Linked DNA regions of Homo sapiens: region 2 is linked to region 1. Evidence: promoter capture Hi-C in 16 types of primary human blood cells and fetal thymus (Javierre and others, 2016). All regions are on one chromosome and are shown on one strand. The core of a region is centred on a gene start or on the middle of the fragment in contact, and the rest is flanking DNA. Distances in the headings are between cores, read along the strand shown. Region 1 holds the start of ARHGAP18 (Rho GTPase activating protein 18). Region 2 overlaps EPB41L2 (erythrocyte membrane protein band 4.1 like 2).

Evidence for each region. The method cuts DNA at HindIII sites, captures the fragments that hold promoters and counts their contacts. A CHiCAGO score of 5 or more calls a contact.
Region 2: a contact is called between a fragment that was not itself captured here and the fragment with the promoter of ARHGAP18 in region 1, in 1 of 17 cell types (M0 macrophages). The highest score is 5.7, in M0 macrophages.

The regions. Positions count from the first base shown.
Region 1 is chr6:129,707,041-129,713,377 of GRCh38, forward strand. It overlaps ARHGAP18 (Rho GTPase activating protein 18), which reads right to left and starts at 3,137. Exons shown (of 15, transcript NM_033515.3): 1 at 2,984-3,137. The coding sequence starts at 3,096. RefSeq lists a silencer at 3,411-3,490. The HindIII fragment of the contact is 10,321 bases long and covers 1-6,337 here.
Region 2 is chr6:131,028,510-131,034,846 of GRCh38, forward strand. The region is part of intron 1 of EPB41L2 (erythrocyte membrane protein band 4.1 like 2); the gene reads right to left. Among named protein-coding and RNA genes, the nearest start is that of EPB41L2, 32 kb to the right of the region's middle. The HindIII fragment of the contact is 1,626 bases long and covers 1,957-3,582 here.

The sequences.
Region 1 (6,337 bases), core at 1,887-4,386:
ACATGGAGAAACCCCGACTCCACTAAAAAAAAAAAATACAAAATTAGCCAGGCGTGGTGGTGCATGCCTGTGGTCCCAGCTACTATAGAGGCTGAGGCAGGAGAATAGCTTGAACCTGGGAGGCAGAGGTTGTGGTGAGCCAAGAGTGCGCCATTGTGCTCCAGCCTGAGCAACAAGAACAAAACTCCATCTCGAAAAAAAAAAGGAAACAATTTTCAATAAATACGCTAAGTCATACACATATGTATAAATGGCATTATAAAGACATGAATTCATCTCATGAACTAAATATTGGATTAAATATTTCAAAGAACATATTACTTACAGACAAAATCTTGTGATAAGAAAAGTTATACTTCCGTGCTATCTTCTATAATTTTTAAATGGGTAGGAGGAAATGCAGAATCTAATTTAGCTTTTATTTTTTATTTATTTATTTATTTTTTGAGACAGGGTCTCACTCCCTCACCCAGGCTGGAGTGCAGTGGCGTGATCTCAGCTCACTGCAATCTCTGCTCCACCAGCCTCAAGTGATCCTCACACTTCAGCCTCCTGAGTAGCTGGGACCACGGGCATGCACTACCATTTCTAGTTTGTTTGTGGTTTCTTGTTTTTTTTTTTTTTTTTGTATTTTTGGTAGAGCTGTGGGGGCGGGGGTCTTTTTTTTGCCCAGGCTGGTCTCTAACTCCTGAGCTCAAGCAATCCACCCACCTCAGCTTCCCAAAGTGCTGAGATGACAGGTGTGAGCCATCACACCCAGCCTAATGTAGCCTTTTTAAGAGTTTTGTTTTGTTTTTACTTTTTGGAGAACTTCTTTAAATAGGCATCAACCATCAACCTTGCACCTTGGAGCAGCTTCCCAGGGCTTAAAACAACACCTGACCAACCCAGCCAAAGCCAAAGCCAAAGTCCAGTTCACCGCCCCGAAACCACTATCACCATTCTTAGGTGGTCACCGAGGACCCCATCCCACCTTCAAATCCTCCTTCCTTCTATCCATCCCCTCCCCCATAGCAATTACAGTATCTCAATCCTTTCAGGCTAAACAGGGTATCTCCCAAAACAACAACAAGTTTATCTGATTCGTTAGCCCTTAAGGGTAAAAGCCATTGAAAACTAGCCCTACTCCCTCCTTCCTCCCTGCCCTCAAACCAGGCTCCCATCTTCTCCGGTCAATATCAGGAACGATCCCTAGAACTAATTCAGTGGTGGGAAGTTGGGTCTGGTATGGGCAGGCTACGTGACAGCCAGCAAAGGAGCTCACCTGGAGCTGTGGCCCCACACAGGGCACTTGCCGTGTGGGCAGCTGCCCACCCTGCCACCTTAGTGCCTCTTGGTTCTGCTTCAGCCTAGGCAGAGAATGATCTGATCCTCTCTTATTCTCTCAACCCACTCAAGTATGGGCCACCCACACTGCAAACACAGAATAATGAGTCTCCAGAACTGGAGATGCAGCCCCAGACAAAGGCCTAGAACTCCAGACCTTCCAAAAACTTAACTAATCCCTGGGGTTTGAGTCCTACGTGAAAATGAGAGGTTAGGACTCAGTCCTTAAGGTCCTTTCCATTCTCACAATCAAGATCCAAGATTCAGCTCAGGTCCTCAGGCCATTCAGCCTAAAGTCGGAGAATGTCCTGAGCTTGTATAATTTTGGCAATTTTGACTGACATGTGGAATCCAAGTTATGGCTGGGTATGGGGTTGGTGTTGCAGGCTGCTTTACTGCTTAATGATTACTAATACATTACAGAAAAATGGATGAAAACACTTCAAGATCTCTTGATTTAATGATTTAACATTAAGTCATTTAAAATGATGGAAAATGAAATGGTAACACAGCTAAGGCACAAGCACCAAATCTTTTTTATCTTTGGAAATGAATTCATTCAATGAAATACATACTGTGGATGCTATGTGAGAAACAGTTCCCGTCAGCTGGGAGTCTAACACTGAGTATTACAGCCATTCCTTTGATTTTTCTCCCTCCCTCATATTTGGAGATTTTAAAACAAATGAAAGGCAGCATTATTTCAGCTTAAGGCACAGGCATAAGTCACATAAGAACAAAGAAGGTTTTATTATCACATTAAGCATTGAGGAGGAAATGTGCTTACCGATAACTAATTTAGTGTTCTAGGCTATTAGGTTAGTATTTGCTTCTTGCAATCTTCTAGGCCAATATTTACTATTTATATCTTGATGGAGGTAAAAATGTTCAGCTAGTGAGAAGGTCATTAAGGAGAGAAAGAAAAAAAAAAGCCCTTGGAAAATGGAACAAAGTACACAGATAGGGAGAAAGGTACCCTTTGCGCCTCAGTGGTCTATAGAACATTTGCCCTCTCTGCCTATAAAGTGATTTAACATTAACCACATTTCACTCCAGCAGCAGAGTGCTATCTCCTGACAAAAACTCCTTTTTGAAAGCCTGGGGGAAAAAAAATCCACATACACAAAAGAATGTGAAACATATTGCCACAGGCCAGTGTCTTGGGCTTTTTGCCTAAGAGGTTTGCTTTCAGCAAAGAGAGGGGGGAAAAAAAACACTCTAACAACAACAGCTTGTACAGTACAGTGAACAGCCTCCCTGCTTTTTGGCAGACTTTCCCAGCGAACAGTTCCAGTGGCAGTGCCTTGAGCCCATTCAAGAATTCCATTTCATAGGAAAGGAAGTGTTTCAGATAGACCTATTTGATCTTTCAGCATGTGCAAATGCACCTGCTAAATAGCTAGTCTGACAGCCCATATAGCCCTCTCCCCAGTTCCTTCTTCTCTGTCTTCACCAGTAATCATATGGGTTATTTCAGACTTGGACTAGGTGAGATGAAAAGTACATAAAAATCACGCCAAACGTTGCTACTGCTGCTGCACGAGCTCAGGCTCGACGTGCAGATGGAATTCCCTTCTCCCCACGCCAACTTCCCTGTCACTTTCTTCCTGGAGCAGGTAAGAGGGTTTTGTTTTGTTTTCAGCTTCCGAAGGCTTACCTCGAGGTGGCTTCCTCCCCTGCCTTTGCATGGCTGTTCCCGACGGTCTGGTCCTTGCCGCTGGGGTGGTAGGCTGTTAGTACCACTCCCTGGGAACTGGAGAGCCAGCTCATGGTGAGAGAAGGGACATACTTTCTGCGATCCTGACACAGAGAAGGGGAAAGAAGTTCCTGTCTCGCCTGGCAACTCGCTCATTAGCATTGGCCAGCTCCTCCCCGCAGGCTGGCGATTCACACGGGGAGGGGCGGGGTCTGTCCAGGGAAGGGCTTCCTGCCTCTCCAATTAGAAGCTGCAACTCACAGCATGGTTTCAACTCTGGACAATTGCACTCTGGGCGGCTTTGGTTAAAGGAGGCGAAGGGTGGAAGCGACGGGTTGCACCCACCCCCAAGTTAGTCTGATCAGATTAAACTGCCAGAACGTATATTCAACTCATCACTGTAACTACAAGCCGTCTTACTTAGGAAACCATGAGTTGCTGCCAAGGCTTTTTTTTTTCCCTCCCCAATTCCTCTATCTTATAATTTCTGCTACTTAATGTAACATGAGTAAAGGCATTTCTTAACCCCTTCATGTTCAGCGTTAAAATTAGCCATAGTAAAAAACAACGAACCCGCGGCAAAACTCTGCAATCCAGACGACGAGAAAGGCTTGATCCTTGTGTCCGGTTAAAAATGCCCTCATAAAAATTGTGTGTCCTGGAATGTCGTCGTCTTTCACATAAAGCCAATCTCAAATATACGTCTTGTTTTAGCAAAATATTTTTCAGCACCAAAAAGGGATAGACCTACCAATGCTCTGTTAAGTGTTATTGCTGAGAACAAGAGAAGTCCCTGCCATTTGTTGAGCACCTACTATATGCCAAGCTCTCATGGACGGGGGTTTCACATGTATTATCTCATTCCATTCAATTCTCTCTCTCTCACACACACACACACACCGTACAAGATAGGTATCACTATCATCTGTGTTATACATAACACAAGGAAAGTAAGGCTGAGGGACGAGTTAAGTAACTTCACTAAGATAACACAGTTGCTAGTGCCAGAAGCTGGATTTGAACAGAATTCTAGGCTACATTCCTTTTATTTTTCACCAGTATGCTCTTCTTTGTTTTGCAGATTAAGAAACAAGATCAAAATTATCATAAACACAAAAGACAGCTCTGTTCTTTCTCCCCATCTCCCCTCCAAAAAAAAAAATCACTTTTTTGGTTTGTTTTTGAATCAGGGTCTCACTCTGTCACCCAGGCTGGAGTACAGTGGTGATTGTAACTCACTGCAGCCTCAACCTCCCAGGCTCAAGAAATCCTCCAGCCTCAGCCTCCCCAATAGCTAAGACCACAGGCATGCACTACCACGCCCAGCTAATTTTTTTATGCTTTGTGGAGAGGGAGGGTCTCACTGTGTTGCCCAGGCTGGTCTTGAACTCCTGGGCTCAAGCAATCCTCTTGGCTCAAGCTCCCAAAGTATTGAGATTACAGGCATGAGCCACCACGCCTGGCTTCTACTCTGACATACCCAGTAGTCTGAAGGTTTTTTTAGATTTTTATGATTCATTCAACTCTCTAGAATTCCTCTTGAACAAGTTTCCAATTCCATCATTACATAAACTTATTGCTTATACCTTATCATTATTTAAAACAGTCATGAAAAATAATTTCTTCCTCCTTACATACTCTAGAAGTATCTGAAATTTATTTTTGAACCCTCTTTCTTATAATTTACAAAAGTCTTCCTTAAAAGGAATTTATATCTTCCTCCCTCCCCCCTGCACAACTGCTCAACCTTCCCATTTCCACTTCCATAGGACTTTACTTGCTGTCTCCTTTTTATCCCCATGACCTCAACCACCTCTGGATCCTATAATGCAGTCTTAGCTCCAATATTACAACAGCCCTTTTAGCTCATCTCCCTGTCACCTCCTTTAAATTGCTTTGACATTATGATCACACCCTGGCACTCATGATCCCTCTCCTCGCTTAAAAACCTTCATTGGCTCTCTATTGCTAACAGAGCCAGTTCCAGGCTTTTGAGCAGATCACTGGGCATTCCTGCTACCTTATACATACAAGTCTTTCCATCTGCTAGACACAATCTTTTCAGGTCCTACTATGATTCTTTTCTCTTCATCTGACAGCTAACTTAAATTTTGTACCTACTGAGCCTTCAGTAAACACTGAATGGAGGAAAACCTGAATGAATTGAAAGTATCCTTTAAAACTCTACTAAATTTTTTTTTTTTTTTGAGACAGAGTTTCGCTCTTGTTGCCCAGGCTGGAGTGCAATGGCATGATCTCGGCTCACCACAATCTCCACCTCCCAGGTTCAAGCGATTCTCCTGCCTCAGTCTCCCGAGTAGCTGGGATTACAGGCATGTGTCACGACGCTGGCTAATTTTGTATTTTTAGTAGAGACTGGGTTTCTCCATGTTGGTCAGGCTGGTCTTGAACTCCCGAACTCAGGTGATCCGCCCACCTCGGCCTCCCAAAGTGCTGGGATTACAGGCATGAGCCACCGCGCCCGGCCAACTCTACTAAATCTTTATATTAAAATTGGTAATATTAGATAAGCGGTTCCCATGCACATACCAGTGCTAACCTATGAGGAAATGTTCATCAGTTCAGGCAAAACAAAAACTATAAAGAGAGGGAGGCAAAGATTAAAGTAAATTAGAATATATGTGTTTTGTCTTTTCAGTGTCCTTACATGGAAAAAATGTTAATAACCAGCTCATCCACCCCTCCTTTTTTATGTAGCTACTCTGAAATGCAAACATATGGGAATCACTATCTTATACAATTATTGATGGTAATCACTACATTATCTTTTGGAAATTCTTTTCTGTTTCCCTCCCACCTTTTTCTCCCCCCTTACTTCCCTCTACCTCCCTTTTTATTATCTTCCTTTTTTTTCTAGTTTTCCTTCTTCCTTTGCTATGTCTTTAGCCTGTCAATGTCATCCATGCCCATTGGCAGCCACGGGCACTGCATCTCTCATGTGACAGTTTGCGATGAAGATTTTGTCCAGTTATAGCCAAAACAATTATTTAGTTATATTTTTGCCTAATTATGGTCTTTTCACTTGTTTAATAACAAATCACAATGTACAGGTTGAAATGTAATTGTTTTACAATGTCAAAATAATATTTGGGTTTGCAATATCCACCGTTTTTAATTTCTGTGAGGCAGAAAACCAAATGTGATACAAATTGATTTACATAGCTTAGTACATAAAATTTGAATCCTTCTAATTTAGCTCTCAAATACCTGAAAATCCTCTGAGCTTTTTCTCCTTTCCTCCCACCAAGCCCTGTTGCTACTGGTCGAAGGGTATTACCTATCACAGGCAGAGAG
Region 2 (6,337 bases), core at 1,520-4,019, 1.3 Mb after region 1:
TGATAAATCATTAAATCTGATTCCATACTTTGAACACTATAATACTACATTGTCTAAGTACACATACCTCACTGAAGTAGCCCTCAAACAACACAAGATTTTTGTTCCCATCATCACAAGAAAAAAAGATCATACAGTCTCTAAATCATATACCAAATTATCTAAATATGTATTAATATCGCATAAAACCAGTTTCATGGAAAATTCTTCAGGGTACATTACCTACCACAGATAAGTATGTATTTATATATACATGTTTTTCACTTCATTATTGACCTCCAATCATACTTGGGTAACTAGGTGACTCAAATGCTCTAAGTAATAATTATCTAAAGCAACATTTCTCACTCTAAAATAATCTACACTTGCCATGTCTTCATTCCTTTTATCTCCATGTATACATACAAATGCTATAAAACCCTTGTTGCATTTTTGAATAGCCAGATTACTAAGGGTACACCAAAATGACTGATCAACTTGGCTTTAGAGGGTTACAAAGAATTCTGCAAAGCTACCACAATTCTCTCTAGGAGATCAATTGCTTCTATCAAATAGCAAACGTTTCAACCTTCCCATCTTCCACTCAGTATAACTCATCAGTGGTAACAATGGACAGAGAATGCTAAAGGGAAAAAAATCTTGAATATTTCATATTTGCATGGGTATTTTCCTCCCTAACATCTCTCTACTTCCCAAAATTCTGGTAAGGAAATACAAGACTTTGTCTCCTTACAACTTCCTCCTTTAGTGGGCTATACTTGGGAAAAGCATCAAGGGAATACTGATGTTTTTTTCTGTTTTGCTTAGGACTGAAAAGCATAACAGTTTAGGGTTTTGCAAAAACCTGAAAATATCACACCCACCCTACTTCAGCATTTGTTTAAAAAAAAAAAAAAAAAAAAAAAGCATGCTTAATTCCACTAGTCAAATTCTGAAAACCACCTGGCTAAATAGCACATTAATAACTGTCCTTTCAGAAGCTATACTTACATTCTACAATTTCATTCTATAGAAATAATTTTTTAAACACGCAGAAAGGATTCAACATTAGAACTATCACAGCTCTATTTTTAAACTGCCAAATTAATTCCAGAAATTAAAAGTTCATTCTCCCACCTCAACGCCCATGGAATCCTGAATGTGATTTACATGTCAAAGGCTGACTCAGATTTAATACATTTACTTCGGAAAAACTTAGAGATGCCTGTCAAATTACAAAGCAATTGCCTAAACATTCCAGTGACATTTAACTGCTATCAAACAGTTGAAAGTTGATCTTTAACAGAATACAGCTGTTGGTGCCACAATACCTGAAAGCCCAAAGCAAGATCTGATTGTTCTGAGCCCTTTATCCAACAATGGAATCCTCAAGGGAGGATTTTTCTCTTTTTTTCTTTTTTTTTTTTTTATGCAGCACCCCAGCCTGCACAATTGGATTGTGGCTTTCCACACATGTACAGTTTCAATCACAGTTTCACACACACTAAAAACTATTCAGAACCACTGTTCGCAGTTCCTCAATGACTTTAACAAATGGTTCAGGGCCCTACTGTTATCTGCTCCCTACCAGGACCCCGTGCTCTATGCTTACAGCAACCCTAAGAGAAACCAGAGGCTCTGCCAAGTGACTCGCTCAAGAATAAAGTCGGCAAGAGGCAAAGGCAGTGTGACTGCAGGGCCTGATCCCTTCCTTGACCAATGGATAGAGGAACCTCTCATAGCACGACATGGCCAGGCTGAGATGGGCTACAGGGCCCTCCTTGGGGCTGGAACATCCTGGTCTCACCACTGCCTCTCAGAAAAGCAACTACTTGAGCAAGTGCTCAATAAACTGGCAAATTTCTACCAATAGGTTTTTAATGAAAGTATTTCTCAACTGACTAAATAGCCAGGACCTGGCTAAAAGACTCATATATCTTCTTCAGAAAGCAGAAAGTGACAAATCATTTCTATGTAAGCTTTCTTTTGGATGGTAATAAGATCAAAGTAAAATATGCAGCCTTCTCTGTATATTTTAGATCCTCAAATAGTAACTCTTTAAAATGCACTGCATTTTTAAATAGACAATTTTTCAATCGCTTACCTCAGTATGAAACAATTTTCTTAATCTGAATTAAGTTAATCTGAACCATTTATATTATGATTCCACTAGGCCCATTTTGTAAAGATGCATTTGTAGTCAAACATAATTACATGTATACAGCAACAGCTGCTCATAAATTAATTGCGGTCCTCTGCCTAGAGGTACCAAAGGGTCTGATGTATTAAATAGTGTATTGAGAGGCAGGGCATGGTGTGTCTCACGCCTGTAATCCCAGCACTTTGGGAGGCCAAGGCAGGCAGATCGCTTGAGCTCAGGAGCTCGAGGACCAGCCCGAGCAACATGGCAAAATCCCATCTCTACAGAAAAAAAAAAAAAAGGTACAAAAATTAGCAAGGCATGGCAGTGGCACGCACCAGTAGTCCCAGCTACTCAGGAGGCTAAGGTGGGGGGATCGCCTGAGCCCAAGAGGTTAAGGATGCAATGAGCCAAAATGGTGCCACTGCACTCCAGTCTGGGCAACGGAGGGAGAGCCTGTCTAAAAAAAAAAAGTTTATAATGAATGGTAAGAAATATTAAAATGCAGCACAATTAAATGTCTAGTAGGCACTACCCACCCCAGAAAAGACAAAATGACTGAATCATTGGCTTAAGTATTCAACTTAAAAGCAAATTTACCTAAATGTCAATTTAGACTAATGGTTAGAAAAGTAAGCAAACAAGTAAGGATAAGAAAATATACAGAGATTTTTTTTTTAAAAAGCCATAATAGAGTAAGCTATAAGTGATAACAATGAACAAAAAATTACCATAGAAACAGCTGATAGAGTACCAAAAAAGGCTCCAAGATAATCATATATAGTTAGTAAATTCAATTGAATAGTTTTGTACCAAGGAGCATGCTGAAAGAATACACAGTAACCTATAAATATTAGAATTATCTTATTTAACTGGAAATTTTACTAATAATAAATTAAATCCAACTCCTAGCAAATGTGACAGTTCAAAACTTCCTAATTTCCTCATTCAATTCTTCTGTCATATGAATTGCCACACAAAAAAGAAAATAACTTATAAGCACACTAGCTGAAAATTCAGTAGAATTGTAAACATTTACAACCAAAAGAAACAAATAATCCAACCTGTGAGATAGTAATTGTCACTATAAAATGAATCTTTTGACCATGAAGCTCTGATAATATATGTTTTCTATCTCAACCTTTCTCCAATTCTGAAGGCGGCATTTATCGATGTACACAAATGAGAACTAGAAAAAAATTAGAAAAAGAAATGCTATGTTAATGTTAACATTGGCAGAAGATAATATTTTCCTCTTTAAATGCCATGAAACTCTTTCTTGAAGAGAGCATAGCTACACTTACTCCAAAGTGAAGAGGGTATAAAAGGGAGAGGAAGCAAGGCATTTGTTTAAACTATACAGCAAATTTCAAAATGGCTTCAACCCTGAGAAAATATCCCTAAAAACACATTTGAAGAGAAAACTACTCAAAGAAATGCTTATCAGATAAGCTCATAAACCAAGCTTACATCAGTTATAGTCCCATATAGTCTCATATATCATATATAATATTCCTATATATTACCATGTCAAGAACCACAGAGACAGCCCTAGCCAGCACAATAAAGTCTTGCTTGAAGAGGGACTGGTATAGTGGTTTACAAAGCTATGGAAAAATACAAGGGTTTCATCCTTCCTTCAGTTTTTTCATCCCTAAAATGCAGTAGCATTTATCTTCTTTCAGCTCCCGAGAATGTAAAGGGAATAAATGAAATAATTTTGGTTCTTTTAAAGACAAGTGCTACATAAACCTTCACTTTTTTCCCTCATGATTAAAAACTCGCTTGCACAGAAGGTCACAGTATCTCAGTGGGCCAAAGTAAAAAATAAAAATTGGCATTATTCAGTTCACAAAGCACTTTCAGATTTATACTTTAATCTCAAGAACCAGTAGTGAGGCAGAGTGACCATCATCCCAGGATATTACAACGTATGCTCACTTGCTAGGTTAGCTTGCCCAAGGACTCGAGCCTGGAACTTTACAGAAAAGTAACAGAAAAAAATTCTGTTTACTACAGCTCTTAATCTCTCAAGTCACAAAAGAATTATTATTTGTTAAAAACTGTATGAAAGAGGATGTATTCTTATCTACCAGTCCTGCCAAAATAATAACCATAAGGTAACAATTTTATATATACCAATGCTGAAGTTAAGTGTACTAACCTCATAATGGTACCTCTTTATTCAATGTTACATTTAAAAATCAAAGACTAACAATAACAAAAAAAAATTTAAGGCTGGGCACGGTGGCTCACGCTTGAAATCCCAGCACTCTGGGAAATCCCAGCACTTTGGGAGTGCAGTGGCACAATCTCAGCTTACTGCAACCTCTGTCACCCGGATTCAAGCAATTCTCCTGCCTCAGCCTCCCGAGTAGCTGGGATTACAGGCGCTTGCCACCACACCTGGCTAATTTTTGTAGTTTTAGTAGAGACAGGGTTTCACCATCTTGGCAAGGCTGGTCTTGAACTCCTGACCTCGTGATTCATCTGCCTCGGCCTCCCAAAGTGCTAGGATTACATGCGTGAGCCACTGTGCCTGGCCAGGATGGCTATGATTTAAAAAAGAAAAAAAGAGACAGAGAAAGACAAAGAAAGACAGGAGAGAGAGAAAGAAAGAAGGGAGGGAGGGAGAAGGAAAGAAGGAAGGAAGGAAGGAGCAAAACAAGTATAGGCAAGGAGGTAGAGGAAATAAAACCCTTATGAGTTGCTGGCAGGAATATAGAATGAATGGCACATCCCTTGTAGAATTGTCTGTTTGTTCCCCACAAATTTAAGAATTACCATATGACCTAGCAATTCCACACATAGGTATGCACTCAAAAGAAGTGAAAGCAGGGACCCAAATAGATATTTGTGCACCAATGTTCATAACAGCATTATTCACAATAGACAAAAGGTAGAAACAAAAATGTCCAACAATAGATGAATGGATAAGTAAGACATATACATACAATGAAATATCATTCAGCCTTAAAAAGGAATAAAATTCTGACACATGCTACAACATGAATGAATTTTGAAAACACTATGCTAAGTGAAATAAGCCAGATAAAGAAAGACAAATATTGTATGATTCCACTTTTATGAAGTACTGAGAATAGGCAAATTCATATAAACAGAAAGTAAAATAAAAGTTACCTGGGGCTGCAAGGAAAAAGGAAGAGGAGTTACTGTTTAACGGGTACAGAGTCTGTGTTTGTGATGATGAAAAAGTTCTGGAAATAGACAGTGGTGATGGTTGCACAGCATTGTGAACATACTTCATGCTTCTGAGCTGCACATTTACAAATGGTTAAAATGGCAAATTTTTTACATATTTTTGTATAGTTTTTAATATATCTTTATATGTATTTTACCACAATAAAAAATGAAACTGAAGGGCTAAATCTATCATCACCAACAATTACTTGAAGACATAAGCATAGAAAGAGCTTATGACTGTTAAAACATCTAATGAATATGGAGAACCATAAAGTCAGCATGCCAGTTTCTGAACATACTACAAGGTGTAATACTACTGCAAGTTGACACTAGAGACCTATTTTCTTAACCACACAAAGGGAATGTTAACTATGGTTTCCTATCTACGAGAAACAAACTGAATTTGGGGTCTGAGACCAATAAACATATTGGGGGTTGGGGGGGACAGTATAATATAATCCAACTCATTAAAAGTTTAGAAATGACAAAAATTGGTCAGGTGTAGTGTCATACGCCTGTAATCCCAGAAATTTGGGAAGCCAAGGCAAGCACATTGCCTGAGCCCAGGAATTCGAGATCAGTCTGGGCAGCATGGTGAAACCTCGTATCTACAAAAAGTGCGAAAATTAGCCGGGGCTACAGTGAGCCAAGATGGCGCCACTCCACTCCAGCCTGGGCAACAAATTGAGACCCTGTGTCAAAAAAAGAAATGAAGAAAATTAAACTCAAAATTACTTTTCCAAAATCATACAACTGGTTATAACAAAATAAGGACTAGAACAACTCAGGTCTCTTATCCCTAGACTGGTGCTCTTCCTACACTTAGTTTGGCTTGAACATGTCACTTATCCTCGCTTTCAAGTAATGGCATTCATTTTAAAAAAGGTTATTGAAATGTCCTGAAAACTATACTTGAAAGATCACCCTACAACTCCTGAATCTATCTGAAGGTTGGGTTCATTCCCATATTCCTGTGATCACTAAAGAATTAAGCTGGCACAATATCCTACAGGG